Regions from separate parts of the Homo sapiens genome. Here region 1 is linked to region 2. The links are contacts of gene promoters, found by promoter capture Hi-C in human tissues and cell types (Jung and others, 2019). All regions are on one chromosome and are shown on one strand. Each heading gives the region's core, a stretch centred on a gene start or on the middle of the fragment in contact. The rest is flanking DNA. Distances are from core to core; before and after follow the strand shown. Region 1 has its middle 5.1 kb from the start of CYP3A4. Region 2 holds the start of CYP3A43 (cytochrome P450 family 3 subfamily A member 43).

Region 1 (7,717 bases), core at 5,026-7,525, 36 kb before region 2:
TAGCAGTTGCTGCCACCTGTGAGCTCCCTGACCCATTCCTGATGGGAGAGATCTCAGTGATGAGGGTGTGAAAATTATATCAGCTCATTATCGTCACTCACACCCAAGTTCTGTGTCTGCCTGGCCTGATGAATGGATTGCATGACAAACAAAATCACAGCGTTCTTAAAACTCAATAGAAATAGGCGATGTTTAAGCTGTGCTTGTTCGCTTCCTTCTCTCTTTATTCTTTCTCACATTCAGCCCTCCTGCAGAAACTGATACTCACCCCAGAAAGACACCTTTTCCCATCCCTCTGGCCCCTAAGCCTCCAGGGCTGCTCGGCACCTGGCCTGAGTGGGTGAACATCATGCCAGATTCCTTGTCAGATTCAAGGCCAAGTGGGTGAATGTCATGTGCAGTGTTGTGCCAGGTGTGTGCCGGGAGCCACATGTTCCTTGGGGACAGCCTAGTGAAGCAGGAGACAAATAAACATGCTTGGATGGTGGTATGCATGTGCTGTAACTCTGGAATCCCTGGGATAAAAGAGCCGTACAGAGAGGCACCTAAGGAAAGAAGTGACAGCAAGCATCAAACCAAAAAGGACAAACATGGGAAGGTGGTGACAATCCCCAAGAGAGGTAGGATAAAAGTCCAGGGAATTTAGATACATTTCTGTCTCCTTTCAGTGGCTTTGCTGAGCACATTAAGTAGGGGCCATGCTACTATCCCCAGTTTACAGATGTAGAAACTGAGGCTCAGTGACTGCAAGTAGCTTCCCAACTGCTACTGATCACAATAAAACTTTATAAAAAGCTAACAGGAAGGGAGATATTAGGTCCTCTCCTGCTCTGGTGCACCTGCCATTCCCTGCTACGCATCACTATGGGAAATAGTGAGACTCAAGGCTGCAACCACAAATTGGTTGGGATTTGTGTTCCTGTCTCAAGGGTTACTCCCAGCGGCACCACCATGGGTCTTCTAGAACAAAGGACTCCATCTCATCTCAGCAGGGAGAAAGAAAGATGCAGTTTCTGACCATATCAGTGGCATTGCTGGAGGATCTCCCTCTCTATGTTCCCACACTGAGAGATGCACAGAACACATTCAGAGAAGTAAAGATTCCAGTGTCATCTGATAACTATCAACAACTTCATTACCTCACCTAAACCGAGAGCCTTTCTTATATTTTTTTTAAACAAAACTCTTACAGAAACAAATATGTTTTCTTCTTGCCTCTAAAACACATACTTGGTAAGATGATTTTTATTCTAAGATGAGGATTTACCTGCCCTACAAACTTTAGGAGGTGGTCTGATTGGTTTGAATCTATACCAACAGTGAGAGACTAATCATCGCTTGGGACTTAAATGCAGCCAGCACTGTGTCCTAACTAATGCAGTTGGTGTTGTTCTGCAAAGGAAAATAATTGAAGGCAAGTTCTGCCACTTAATTCCACAGAAGGTAACATCTTCTAACATGTAGGGACTTGACTACTGAGAGCTGCACTGACTGTGTCAAGGAAGATACATCCAACCACCACATGCCTCTCCCCTGCTCATTTCCTGTATTAAAGCCTTCATCATGTTTTTTAAAGCTGTGCTCTCAGTACTGTGCTCTTAGTACTATGCTTCCAACCAAAGTTGGTCTTGGTCAACTTTGTACCCTAAGCACATAGAGCAGAGACAAATAAGCAGATAATTATAGTACAGCTAAGGAAAAATAATCATACAAGTATGAGAAACATAATGTCCTTATCAACAATGAAAGACTTATCTTCTTTCTCGTTCTAGTTTCATTGGATCAAAGTTCAATCTCAACATTCAGAGAAGCATTAGGCTCAGATATCAGCATCAGTGGACAGGCTGTCCAGGGACTCAACGTTGTAAAGAACACCATCACTCTGATATTTTCATCCTTTTATACTGGTAGCCCAAGTGGTACCTCTCTTCTGGGAAGCTTATCCTGACTTCCAGTAGCCAAGTGAATTGCTGATGGTATGCGGAGGCAACATTGCTCTGGAATTACATGTGTATTCGATTCAAATTTCACAAGTCATGATCTTGAGGATGTAAACCAAAAAAAAAAAAGAAGAAGAAGATTATCTCTCTGTAACTCAGCTGTCAAGTCCCCATTCTTCTCAGTAGGGGAAAACTTGATTTTGCATGTTGGGGTGACCACGTGGTATCTAAGTTTTGCTCTTATTTATTTTTAAAATTGTTTTGAGGCAGGGTGTCACTCTGTTGCCCAGGCTAGAGTTCAGTGCTGTGATTATAGCTTACTGTTGTTTCCACCTCCTGGGCTCAAGTGATCCTCCCACCTCAGCCTCCTTAGTAGCTGGGACTACAGGCATGCAACAACGCCCAGCTAATTTTTAGTACAGATGGGACCTAGCTATGTTGCCCAGGCTGATCTCAAACTCCTGGCCTCAAGTGATCCTCCTGCTGCTGTCTCCTGAAGTTCTGGGATTTCAGATGGGAGCCACCACACCTGGCCTTTAAGTTTTAGTGGCTGGAGGAGGGGATTAGCTAATGCTTTTGGGCCTCATGCTTGGGGGTGGTGTTGAGGAGAGTGACAGGTGCATGGTTATGCTCTCTTGGCACTGGAGGAGGTAGGTGTCTCACTTTCATGACTTTCATGCCACTGTATGTTGGTTAGCCTGTATGCCTGCTGTGTTCAGGGCATGTGGCAAGCACTAAATATTAAAGAATCAAAATCCTTGCCCTTATGAAGCTAGCACTCATATAGGAGAAAGAGACACCAAACAGCCACACAAATAATACTGAATTACAAATTGGGATAAATGCTATGAAGTAAAAGAACCCTTTACTTAAGCTCCCAGTGGTATCAGACACAGTTGATCCTTCTTTCTTCCCTAAACTCTATCTCCCTTTGAGAGACATGAATACAACAGCATCAACAAGACTTGACAGATGGGAAGTGTGAGACCTTGGATATTCCTGGGCCTGTTTCCTCATCTGTCCATGGGGGAAACTGACCAGAATTGGCCTGTGAAGACCAAGGTTCTCCTTGTCCCAATCAGAAGACCCCTGCAGGACTGCCTGCCTCTCAGCCTCTGTGTCCCTCTAGGATTTTTGAAGACATTCCCTGTTCTCTATTCTCCTCTTATAGATCACTTAGGGTCCACCAGGTCTTCCAGCCCAATCAAGGACCAACAGCTCCTGTGGGCGGGAGGAAGAGCAAAGGTGGGATAGGATGGAACTGGGAGAAGATAACCACCCATTTAGGCCCTGAACTTTAAATTCTGGATTGGTTTCTTAACTGAGATTGCAGAGAAAAGGTTTCACACATGCTCACACCCACTCACACACAGCTCTTACTCCAGGAAATGATAGTGAATACGTGTCATGCTAAGTACTTCCCCTGCATTAACTGATTCAATCTGTCCAACAATCATGTGGTATTGATACTGTTATGATCCCTATTTTACAGATGAGCAAACTAAGCCACAGGAAGGTTAACTGACCCATTAAAGTTTACATCACTAATTGCTTTAGCAGAGCCAGGATTCAAATTTAGATCCTCTAGCTTGAGAGCCCAGGGTCATAATCTGTTAACACAGGCCCAACCTTGCCCAAGGCCACACAGAGTTAGTGAGGAACTAGCAGTGCAGCCCAGGCCTTCTGAATGGGTAGTGGCCAGAGTTCTGCCCCTACTCTGGGACAAAGTGAGGTCCCCTAGCAAACTCGTCAGTGAGGGCTGGGGTGAAGCAATGTCCTTCCTTCTCTCTGCCTGCCCTTGTCCTGAAGTATAAGCACTTCTGTAGACTTTATGACAAAAAAGAACAGGAGCTCTCTCTCTCCTGCCGCCTTGTGAAGAAGGTGCCTTCTTCCCCTTTGCCTCCTGCTATGACTGAGAGTTTCCCGAGGCCTCCCCAGCCATATGGAACTGTGAGTCAATTAAACCTCTTTTCTTTATAAATTAATAAAAAGAAGAAGAGGAGGAGGACTCAATCATAACTGTTGGCTTTCTACTCCATTCTAGAGTGTCTATTTCTTGATAAAGTAACCACTAACATCTCCATGGCACTTCACAGTTTATACAGTTCTTTCCCAACTCTCTTAACATCAGCAAGAAAACTTTGTAAGATGAGTAGTGTTAGGATGATTTAACTCATACTTTATAGACATGGGAACAGACAGCTGGAAAGAGACTTGCAGAAGTGACTATGCCATGAAGCCAAGGCATGGAGCAGGATGCTGTGATTACAAATTGTGCCGGTAGCATTCTTGCTGGGATTCCAAGGAGGCTCCTAAAATAACTTGGCAGGTTGTGTCAGCCACACATGTGATAAATATTTCTCTCTACACCTCCCAGCACACTGCCAGTGTAGTTATAAAATGCTACAGAGCTGGTTGTGACCACGAAAACGACATGTGCATCCTACACTTTACTAAATTGTGTATTCAGTGAACTCATGGTTTCAGCAGAAAGGCAAATGTTGCAAATAATTCTGACATGTCACAATCAGAATCATTTGTGTTTCCAGGAAAGCAAAAAGTAAAAGGTGATGAAACCAACAGGTAAAAGAGAAATCAGAGAATGTGAGGCAAATTTCAGAAGAGCACGTGGAAGGGAATTAATGAAACAGGAAATTAGTGAAGGAAATGAAGATCATCATGAGATGTGTTACAAAACGTCAGCACAACCTACACCATTTCTCATACTCCTTATTTCAGTAACCCCCTAACTTGTTTTGCCTGACCCTGGGCAGGACTTATCCAGGGAATTCCCTACTCAGCCACCAGAAAGCGTCTTGAAAAACATAGATCTTGAAACATGTTTCTTTCCTTGTCTTCAGTCCCTCCAACTGCTCCTATCACCCACAGGATAAAATCTAAGTATCTCTAGGAAGTAACACAAGACCCTTTCTGATCTGGCCACTGTTAGCTTCTTCATTCGGTCTCAGTCCACTTTTCCAAGTGTGCATGATGTTTTAAGCAAATGGTGTGACTGGACACTCCTCAGGCTCTACAAAAATGACATATCCGTGTCTCCTTGTGTCCACACAAGCTGTTCTTCAGCATAGAGTGGGTCCAACCCAGCTTCCATCTGGTGCATTCCTAACCATCCTTCAGGAGTCAGCCAGGGCATCATCTCCCCAACAAGCCTCTTCCATGACCTCAGCAGGCAGGTGCTGGAGAGGGTCCCACTGGTGCTTTCTCACAGTTCCAACAGCTGAACACACAGTGGCTGTCATCCTGGGATGCTCACAGCATTCACATGCATGGGGAGCTTCTAAAAACCACAGGTTCACTGGGTGTGGTGGCTCATGCTTGTAATCTCAACACTTTGGGAGGCCAAGCCGGGCAGATCATGAGATCAGGAGTTCGAGACCAGCTTGGCCAATATTGTGAAACCCCATCTGTACTAAAAATACAAAAATTAGCAGGGTGTGTCGGTGGGTGCCTGTAATCCCAGCTACTCAGGAGGCTGAGGCAGGAGAATTGCTTGAATCTGGGAGGTGGAGGTTGCAGTGAGCCAAGATCGGGCCATTGCACTCCAACTCCAGCCTGGGTGACAGAGTGAGACTCCGACTCAAGAAACAAACAAACAAACAAAACCCCCACAGGTTCCTGGGCCTACCAGAAATGAGAAGGGCTTGCCCAGGGGCCTAACAATGAGGAGGCAGGGACCATTGAGGGCCATCTGGAGAGAATCCAAAGTGTCCCATCAATCCAGAGACATGAAAAAAAGGCATCATGCCCAACTCATTCCATGAGGGCCATAACCACATGATCCAAATCAGAAAAAAATCAGGACTGCAAAGGAAGATGGCATGCCAGTCTCATTGATGAGCATCAGTGCAAAAATCCTAAACAAAACAGTAGCAAGCCACAGACAGCAATGATCAAAGATGACACACCATGACCAAGTTGAATTTAAACCTGAGACTCAAGAATGGTTAACAGAGAAATAGTATAAATACCAATGATATCGTCAACAGGTTAAAGGAGAATGGTTATAAGATCATCTCAATGGTTTTAGGAAAAGGCTTTGATAGTTCAATAACAATATATTAATAATATATGATAATAATATTCAACTTTCATTTATGATATAAAAACCTTCAACAACTAATAGCAGGGAATTTTCTTAATCTGATGAAAGCATCTACCAAAAAAAACTTAGAGAAAACATTATTCTTAGTAGTATAAAAGCATTATGCTCTTATACCTTCTTAGTGTTTACCATGTGCACATATTACCTTTTCAAAACTAGTAACATTTTTTTTAAACAAAAAAAATCCTATCAATTAACTTACTTTTTTCTGTAATTGAAAAGAATATGATAGCTTGTTCTTGTCAGAAGTTCAGCTTGTGATTCACCTGGGGTCAACACAGGACAAGGTTTAATAATCACTGAAATAATTAAACTTTGTAATGCCTCATGAGGCTGCTTGAACCGACATGATTTCAAGGGCACCGAGAGGCTGGAGGAAAGCAGAGGGTCAGCAAGTTCATTCAGCTGAGATCATCTCAGTTTACAAACTGGGCTTTATGACCTTTAATTGGGACATGAGTTTCTTTGATAATCAAATGAAAGGAATGAACCATCTCTCTAGAATAAACCAGCAACCAGCATTTTTGCATGAAGTTCCAAGGGGACCCCAGAGAGACATGTTACTAGGAAGCTTGCCAAACCCAGTGACTTTCCAGGGGACCTGCCCACCCAAGTGCAGCCCACGCCTGACACCCAGCCCTCAATGCCCTATTCTGATCGGTTACATGGTTATCTCCAGGACCATGGGGCCCTCTCTATCAGTGTGAATGGGTTCTCCACTGTGCCCTGTGCTATGACACAACACAGGGCAACAGAACCATAAGGGAAGGTGTGAACAAGACCTTTGCAGACAGAGCCATACTGAAACCCTAGGTAGGGTACTTCACCACACGGAGGGAACTGGAGAGACACCAGGAGTTCTGGGAAGGCAGAGATAAGGGGATCTGGAACTACCTGGGGTGAAGTCTTCCTAAAGGAGTGACTGTTTGCATTATCATAGAGAAGTGTTTGGACAGAAGAAGGGAAAGTGAGAAGCATTTCAGGCTGTGAGAATGGTCCAGCTTTTTTTAGTAATAAAAAAATAGAAAACGTAGAAATTACTTTTAACTCTGTGTATTGAATACGCAAGAAATGGCATCCCAATCCTTTTCTTTACTATTATTTTTGTTATTTAGACAGTCTTGCTGCATTGCCCAGGCTGGAGTACAATGGCACAATCATGGCTCACCGCCACCGCAGCCTCCCAGGCTCAAGCAATTCTCCTGCCTCAGCCTCCTGAGTAGCTGGGACAACAGGCATGCATCACCATGCCTGGCTAATTTTTTGATGTTTTGTAGACATGAAGTCTGGTATTGAACTGACTTGCCTAGGATGGTCTTGAACTTCTGGCTTCAAATGATCCTCCTGTCTCAGCCTTGCAAAGCACTGGGATTACAGGCATGAACCACTGAGCCCAGCCACTTTATTATGAACAAGGTTGAATATTTCTGTATTTTTGACAGCTGCATTTCTTCTTTGATAAAATGTTCATGTCCTTTGCCCTTGTGATACCTGTTGGAGTTGCTTTGTTTTTCATGTCAAGCTATAATAAATATAATTTAACTGGCAAAGAGAGAAAGGCCCAGCTTAACCCTTATTATCATTGTTGAGTCATTTTTTGGTTGCAAGGTACAGTGTCTGTATCGAGGCAGTTTCAATTACTGCTAATAAAGAA
Region 2 (7,276 bases), core at 565-3,064:
ATGTTCCAGACAAAGACAGTGATGGTAAAAAGGGAAAAGTGGAGGTAGAATGCAAGTGCAGCAGCAGGAAGATATGGGACTCTCCATTTTAGGGTCTTCAAGTTTTTCAGATTTTCTGAGACATGGGTTAACTCTTCAGGTTAGTCTCCTAGTAAAACACAGCCAAAGTCCCAATTGTGTTTGAAACTTTCAAAAATGCAGATTGAAAGAAAGCCTCTTACTGTCTTTGAGAAGTCCAGACTCCTCTTATCCTCATTGCATGCTTCGGAGTTCAATTTAGGTGTATCTCTCACATCCATTTCTGTCGAGCCTTTACCTTTAAATTTTAAACTTGAAAAACTGCCAGAGTACCTGATAGTGATTGATCAGAGACAGAGCCACCGAATTACCCGATGGCAGGCCTTAGAGACCATGGCCTTAGGACCTAGGTTATGCATAGCCCTCACCTTAGGAAGGGGTCCCTTCAAGGGCAAATAAAATGCGATAGTCCTTGCAACACTGAAGCATGGAGTATCCTGTGAGGCATGAACTTGCTTGATGCAGCATGAATGCACCCCAAGAAACATGGGCATGCCCCTCCAAGTGCAAGCATACCCCACAAGTGGGTAGCCATAGAGCCAGAAGGGCAGGTTCCCTGAAAAAAATAAAGACCTCAAGACCTCATCCTAAATGTGAGATCTTGGATGTAAGAGGATTTACTGATTTTTCCACAAAACAGCCAGGCCAGGAAGATAACTGAGCTTAGAGGACTCTTGCTGGTGCCAATGCATTGATTAGTCCAGATGACAAGGGAGAGGATCTTGAGAGCCAATTTTGATCCCTTCCTCATCACCAGGAAATATGAGTAAAGATTGTGGGATCTGTGGAGGACAGAGGGAGAGCTTCATTTTCTATAAAACACAGTCTGCAGATTGAGGAGATGCAGCCTCGGAGGTGGAGAGCTATAAAGTCAAAAACCACAGAGCAGGATAGAGGAGTCAGAGGAGTGAAGAAAAGAGTCTTGATTAGACAGCCTTTAAGCCCCAAGTCACATGTCTCTTAATTGGCTGTTCCTAGGTGGTCAGTTAGTTCTTACCACATGATCTGTTGGTGAGCAGTTGGAAAATTCCCAGGTACAGATTTTTTCAGAAAATGTTATTTGACTTGGCTACAGAAAAATAGGTTTTGCAACACTTACTAAGAACACAGAGAACATGACCATCACCTAAACCTGCCATGGCCTCTTGGGTTTGTTTTTGCTTTTGAGGCACAGGGAGTCCTTCTTGTCTGTTTACCTGGAGGCATGATTTGGCAACCTAGATAACAAACAGAGATAGGCTTTCTAAAAAGAATTATTTTTATTTGGGAATAAAGCATTGCAATGGGAATATGCGTGCCAAGGTAAACTATGTGCTTATTCAGGTAGGTAAAGTAAGACAAAGTTTAAAAAAATAATGAGAAGGATTACATATTTGTTTTGGAATGATTATCCTTGGCTATAAAGATCAATAACAAGACTGACATCAGTTTGAGGTTGGACAGGCAGTTGCTGGGCAGATGTTCTTGCAGAAGTATTTTTCTTTAGGTTCCTGAGAATCTATAACCTTTGGGCTTACCAATAGCAGTGACTGATTTGTTTACTGATTGTTCACAGAATAGGAAATCAAAGGAGGCCAAAATAAGGACAGCCATAATTATTTGCCAATTGTCAATTTGAAAAGGGTACCCAAATCCCTCCATATGAGGAGTAGCATAAGTGGCTTTTCTACTGGCTGCCGCTGTAGACCCACCTCCTTCTCCAGCACATAAATATCGCTGTTAACATTAACTAAATCACCTCTGGGCAGAGAAACAAAGCTCTATATGCACAGCCCAGCAAAGAGCAGCACACAGCTGAAAGAAAAACTCAGAAGACAGAGCTGAAAAAGAAAACTGGTGATGGATCTCATTCCAAACTTTGCCATGGAAACATGGGTTCTTGTGGCTACCAGCCTGGTACTCCTCTATATGTGAGTAACTATGCAGGCATGTTTGCTCTTAACTCTAAGACCTGAAGTGCTAATTGGGCCCATCTTTTTCTTATTTGTTTTGAAGATAAAAGAGATAACGGAGGGGAAGTTACCTAAGTGCCAAATACTGTGAACACATAAAATATTATTAATATGTTAGGACTCCTAATACAACATTTGAAAATGTAAAATTTAGTCTGGGTGCGGTGGCTCACACCTGTAATCTCAGCACTTGGGAGGTGGAGGCAGGCCAATCACAAGGTCAGGAGTTCAAGACCAGCCAGACCAACATGGTGAAACCCCTTCTCTACTAAAAATACAAAAATTAGTCAGGCATGGTGGCACACACCTGTAATCCCAGCTACTTGGGAGGCTGAGGCAGGAGAATCGCTTGAACCCAGGAGGCAGAGGTTTCAGTGAGCGGAGATTGCACCACTGCATTCCAGCCTGGGTGACAGAGCAAGACTCCGTCTCAAAAAAAAAAATAAAACTTTGTCATACTGAGTAGTTTGAACTAAAGAAGACTGAAAGACTTCACAAATGTCTTCAGAATCTCTGACCCTCTTCTGTCTACCCATCCCCCATTCTTTCCCTCCTGAAGTGCAGGGTTGCTCTGAAGTTCTCTTATCTGACTAAGGGAAGATCTTCCAAAAAGAATGCAATTGTCTTGAGCCTCTCCAAATAATCTCATCAATCAGAAAACTAATTCACAGGAAAAGAGAAAAAGTTTGATAATACTTATTCTTTGGAGCACTGCTACCTGAGAGACTTTATCTCCACAATAAAATAACCTTTGTTCATCATGTGTTTTCTCCCTTCACCTTCCCATAACTTGTGTCAGAAACTCCCTATCAGAAGCCACTCCCTACTTTTTAGCTTACAATGCTATTTAAGCTTTACTCATTCAGTCCTTATTTTAGTCTCATATATTGTGGGCCTCCAGCACATATGCATGTAAAATTTTGTATGGATTTTCACTGTAACCACCCAAGAGATTCACCTTGCCCCCTGCCTCAACAGAGCCCATTCATCAAGACAGGGGAATTGTAATAGAGAATGAGTTAATACATGCTGCCAACAAAAAGAGCCAAACTCTGTACAATACTTGAAGAGATTTATTCTGGGCCAAATATGAGTGACCATGGCCCATGACACAGCCTTCAGGAGGTCTTAAGAACATGTACCCAAGGTGGTCAGGGTGCAGCTTGGTTTTATTCTTTTAGGGAGGCATGAGATATCAAATACATTTAAGAAATACATTGGTTTGGTCCACAAAGGCAGGAAATGTGATTTTTGCAGAATTCTTTGTGATAGAGCAGACTCCAGAGAAATTGCAACAACTTAAAGTCTTTCAGATCTGGCCCTAAGGAGCTATAGGAGAGAAAAAAAATCTGTCAGATCACCATTGCCTACCTCTACTCCAACTGGAGCTGTTTCAAAACCAACATGTAGAAATCTTTTTGTCTGGCTGCCCTGTGAACTCAGAAACTAGTCTGCTAAATGATTAACTTTTGGTCTCCTTTTGCTTTGGTAGAATGACCTCTTATTAAGTACCTGTTTAACTGCACCATATACAGACCTATCTTTCATGACAGCAGACCTGCAACATCACCTCCTGAAATGAGGCACAGCTGTTTAACTGGATTGACATTGCTAGGAATGTGAGACTGGTTTATACTGGTTTAATGTGATTCCTTGCGACTCAGCTACCAATTCAATTGTCCTCTCCACAAGCATCAACTCAGCTTTAGTATGTACATTTTCTAGGGAAGTTTATGACAGGGGAAAGTTGGGGCTCCAAAAATGAAACCCCAAAATATGGCACTTAAGCATGTTGAGGACTTTGAACCAAAGGAAATTGAAAGGTCTCAGAAAGTCTTCAGAACCAAGCTAACTCTTATGTTCTCCTGTCTCCCAACCCTGCTATTTCTCCCAAAATATAGGAAGGGGCTTTCTCTGAAGTTCTCATACCTAAAGGAAGATCCTCCTAAAAAAAAGCAATGGTCTTGAGCCCCCTCCCTATAATCTCATGAAAAAGAATCTTAGCAGGGCCAGGCATGGTGGCTCATACCTGTAATTCCAGCACTTTGGAAAGCCGAGGTGGGTGGATCACGTGAGGTCAGAAGTTCAAGACCAGCCTGGTCAACATGATGAAACCCTGTCTCTACTAAATATACAAAAATTAGCTGGGTGTGGTGGCAGGTGCCTGCAATCCCAGCTACTCGGGAGGCTGAGGCAGGAGAATCGCCTGAACCCTGGAGGCAGAGGTTGCAGTGAGCCAAGATTGCGCCATTGCACTCTAGCCTGAACAACAAGAGCAAAACTTAGTCTAAAAGAAAAAAAAAAGAAAAAAATAATATTAGCTCACAGAAAGGGAGACTAAGGTTGATAATACTTGTTCTTTGGAGCACTGATGCCTGACAGACATTATAATAAGATGACTTTTGTTTATCATGCTTTTTCTTCCCTCACTCTCTCATGTCTTGTGTCACCCACTCCCCATCAGAAGATACTACATTTTTATAGCTCAGAATGCTATTTAAGCTTCAATCATCAGGCCATTCTTTGAGTATCATATCTTTCAAGGCTCCCATGCATATTCATGAGATAAATTTATAAGGATTATCTCCTATTAATTGATCTACTGTTAGTTCATTTCTCAGACTCAAATATCAAACCTCCATAGAGGAATGTTCTCTTGACCCTACAGATGTTACACAGATCCGTTGAAGAAGTAAATAAACATTATCCACCTCCTCTTCATTCAACTTCCAATTTCTGTTACTAAGAGTGTTTACTGACATCATTCAATCCTGGGGATGCTTTCTGATTGACTATGAGTTTTGATCTACCTAGACTAACAACCAGAATTTAGCATGGGCAGATAATGGATTATAAACAACTGGAAACCCAAGAGGTTATTTTCGATGTGTGAGTAGGAAAAGATCCCCAAAGAGGGAACCAAGCTAACAGCTGGGCCTGGCCAGGGTGCCACTGTGGGGTCCTTCAAACACATTCTCTTCATGCAATTTTTCAGCTTTATCACATTTTATAAGATTTATTTATTTGTACTGAATATTTAGGATCTAAGAAAAGCTAACCTATAAAGAAGAGAAATCAAGTTTCTAATTCAACTGTCTGGAATATTTTATGGTTACTTATGCTATGTAGCACAGTGAAACTTTTCTATCAACAGAAATGTTCCTGAATTTTGGAAGACCTCTCTTTCAGCTGAAAGCACATAAGGGGCATTTAAAACTATTTATGCATACCATAATTTTCAGCCACACTTTCCTAACTTACCCTTATAGGGCCTACTTTGTGGCACCAGCAGTTGCATGGTTACATCGGCGGGATGCAGCCTCTCTTTTTCCTCCAGTCTTCCATCCCTCAGTAACACCAGAGTGGGAAGTTCTGCAAGGATCCAGAACCTGCAATTGATGGAGTTCACACATAACCCATCAAAGATGAGTTGCAGGCAGGCCTGCCATAAGGAGCACCAGACTTAATGGGTTTTCCTGCAGGATAGTTGATGTACAGAAGCAGTAAACTGACTCTGTGTGACTGATCATTTTGAGAAAAAAAAAAAGTGAGCATGACTGGCATTGTGCTTATCAAGTAAGGATCACCAGTTGGAGGGCCAGATTGCACAAGAGGAGGAATGGCCTTGAAATTTATTCTTTAGTCATTGGTTCCTCTGCATAGTGCCATTCAGAGAACATATAGGTCAATCACATTTACTGTAGTTTATATCAATCAAATCATCTGACCACAGAGATTTGGGTGTAGCTGGAAGGTGCTCACATTTCTATGAAGCCAGTGGAAGCCTTGAATATGGTTGTCATTCCATAGAAATAAGAACACTATGATTCTTCCAGAGCTCCTCTGTGCAGGAATGTTTAAGGATGGCCAGATCCTAAAACAAGGTCAGTGTTTAGAGGGAAGGAAAAGCATAAACACCTCTGAGAAAACAGGAAAGAAGGTGTCAGCAAAGGGCCTCAGTAACCCTCTGTAATTCAATGGATGTAGTGATACACAAACTCATTATTAGTTCAAAAGATAAAAAAAAAAAACCTCACCTAGTGATATGGTTTGGCTCTGTGTCCCCAGCCAAATCTCATCTTGAATTGTTATCCCTATGTGTCAAGGAAGGGACCTGGTGGGAGGAATTGGATCATAGGGGTGTTTTCACCCATGCTGTTCTCATGATAGTGAATGAATTCTCACAAGATCTGATGGTTTTAAAAGTGTGGCACCTCGACCAAACACCGCATGTTCTCACTCATAGGTGGGAATTGAACAATGAGAACACATGGACACAGGAAGGGGAACATCACACACCGGGGACTGTTGTGGGGTGGGGGGAGGGGGGAGGGATAGCATTAGGAGATATACCTAATGCTAAATGATGAGTTAATGGGTGCAGCACACCAACATGGCACATATATACATATGTAACAAACCTGCACGTTGTGCACATGTACCCTAAAACTTAAAGTATAATAATAATAGAAAAAAAAACAAAACAACAAAACAAGAAAAAAAAAGTGTGACACCTCTTCTCTCTCTCTCTGTCTTTCTCTCTCTCCTGCCTCCATGTAATACATGCTTTGCTTCCCCTTCACCTTCCACCATGATTTTAAGTTTCCTGAGGCCTCCCCAGCCATGGAGAACTGTGAGTCAATTAAGCCTCTTTTCTTTATAAATTACCCAGTCTCAGGTAGTTCTTTATAGCAGTGTGAAAATGGACTAATACACCTAGAAAGAGAATTTCCAAATCAGGAAAGAATCAATTAACTAAATAGACATACGTGAATGAAATGCCCTGGAAGAATTCCAGTCTGAACCTCTTAAGGGCACTCAAATTTGGGAACATTTATTAAGCATTCACTCTAGCACTGGGATCATGCAGACTTCAGCTGCTTTTAGTTAATCATTGTGACTTTTTGGGGTCTCACAGAGGAGGCAGCAAAAAAGATGAGGATTGAAATGTAGTGGGATTTTAAGGAATCAGAGAGACTGATGGGGTTCAGGAGGATATTTATTAATTATTTAGGTGCACCAGCCCAGTCGGATTAACATCCAGAGGACTGAGCTCTGAACAAAGAGTTTAGTTACCTTTTAAGCATTTCGTGGGAGGGGGGAGATCTGTGGAGAGGGAAGCATACTAGAGAAGTAAGAAACAAACACAGTTATTCAATTGAGAAATGCATTACATCATTTCTTACATTTCAAGGAAAAACACGTTTTGTGACTTGAGTTTATCTGTCTAGTGACCTTGCAGCTGC

The links. The method cuts DNA at HindIII sites, captures the fragments that hold promoters and counts their contacts. A contact is called where the count stands out against the background at its distance.
Region 1: a contact is called between a fragment that was not itself captured here and the fragment with the promoter of CYP3A43 in region 2, in 1 of the 25 tissues and cell types used here (liver).

The regions. Positions count from the first base shown.
Region 1 is chr7:99,785,441-99,793,157 of GRCh38, forward strand. No RefSeq gene overlaps it. Among named protein-coding and RNA genes, the nearest start is that of CYP3A4, 5.1 kb to the left of the region's middle. RefSeq lists promoters at 1-7,717, 1-587, enhancers at 4,426-4,709, 4,768-6,566, 6,449-6,463, 7,568-7,717 and a cis regulatory region at 6,000-6,020. The HindIII fragment of the contact is 3,979 bases long and covers 4,287-7,717 here.
Region 2 is chr7:99,826,199-99,833,474 of GRCh38, forward strand. CYP3A43 (cytochrome P450 family 3 subfamily A member 43) reads left to right here and starts at 1,815. Exons shown (of 13, transcript NM_057095.3): 1 at 1,815-1,988. The coding sequence starts at 1,918. The HindIII fragment of the contact is 7,263 bases long and covers 1-3,707 here.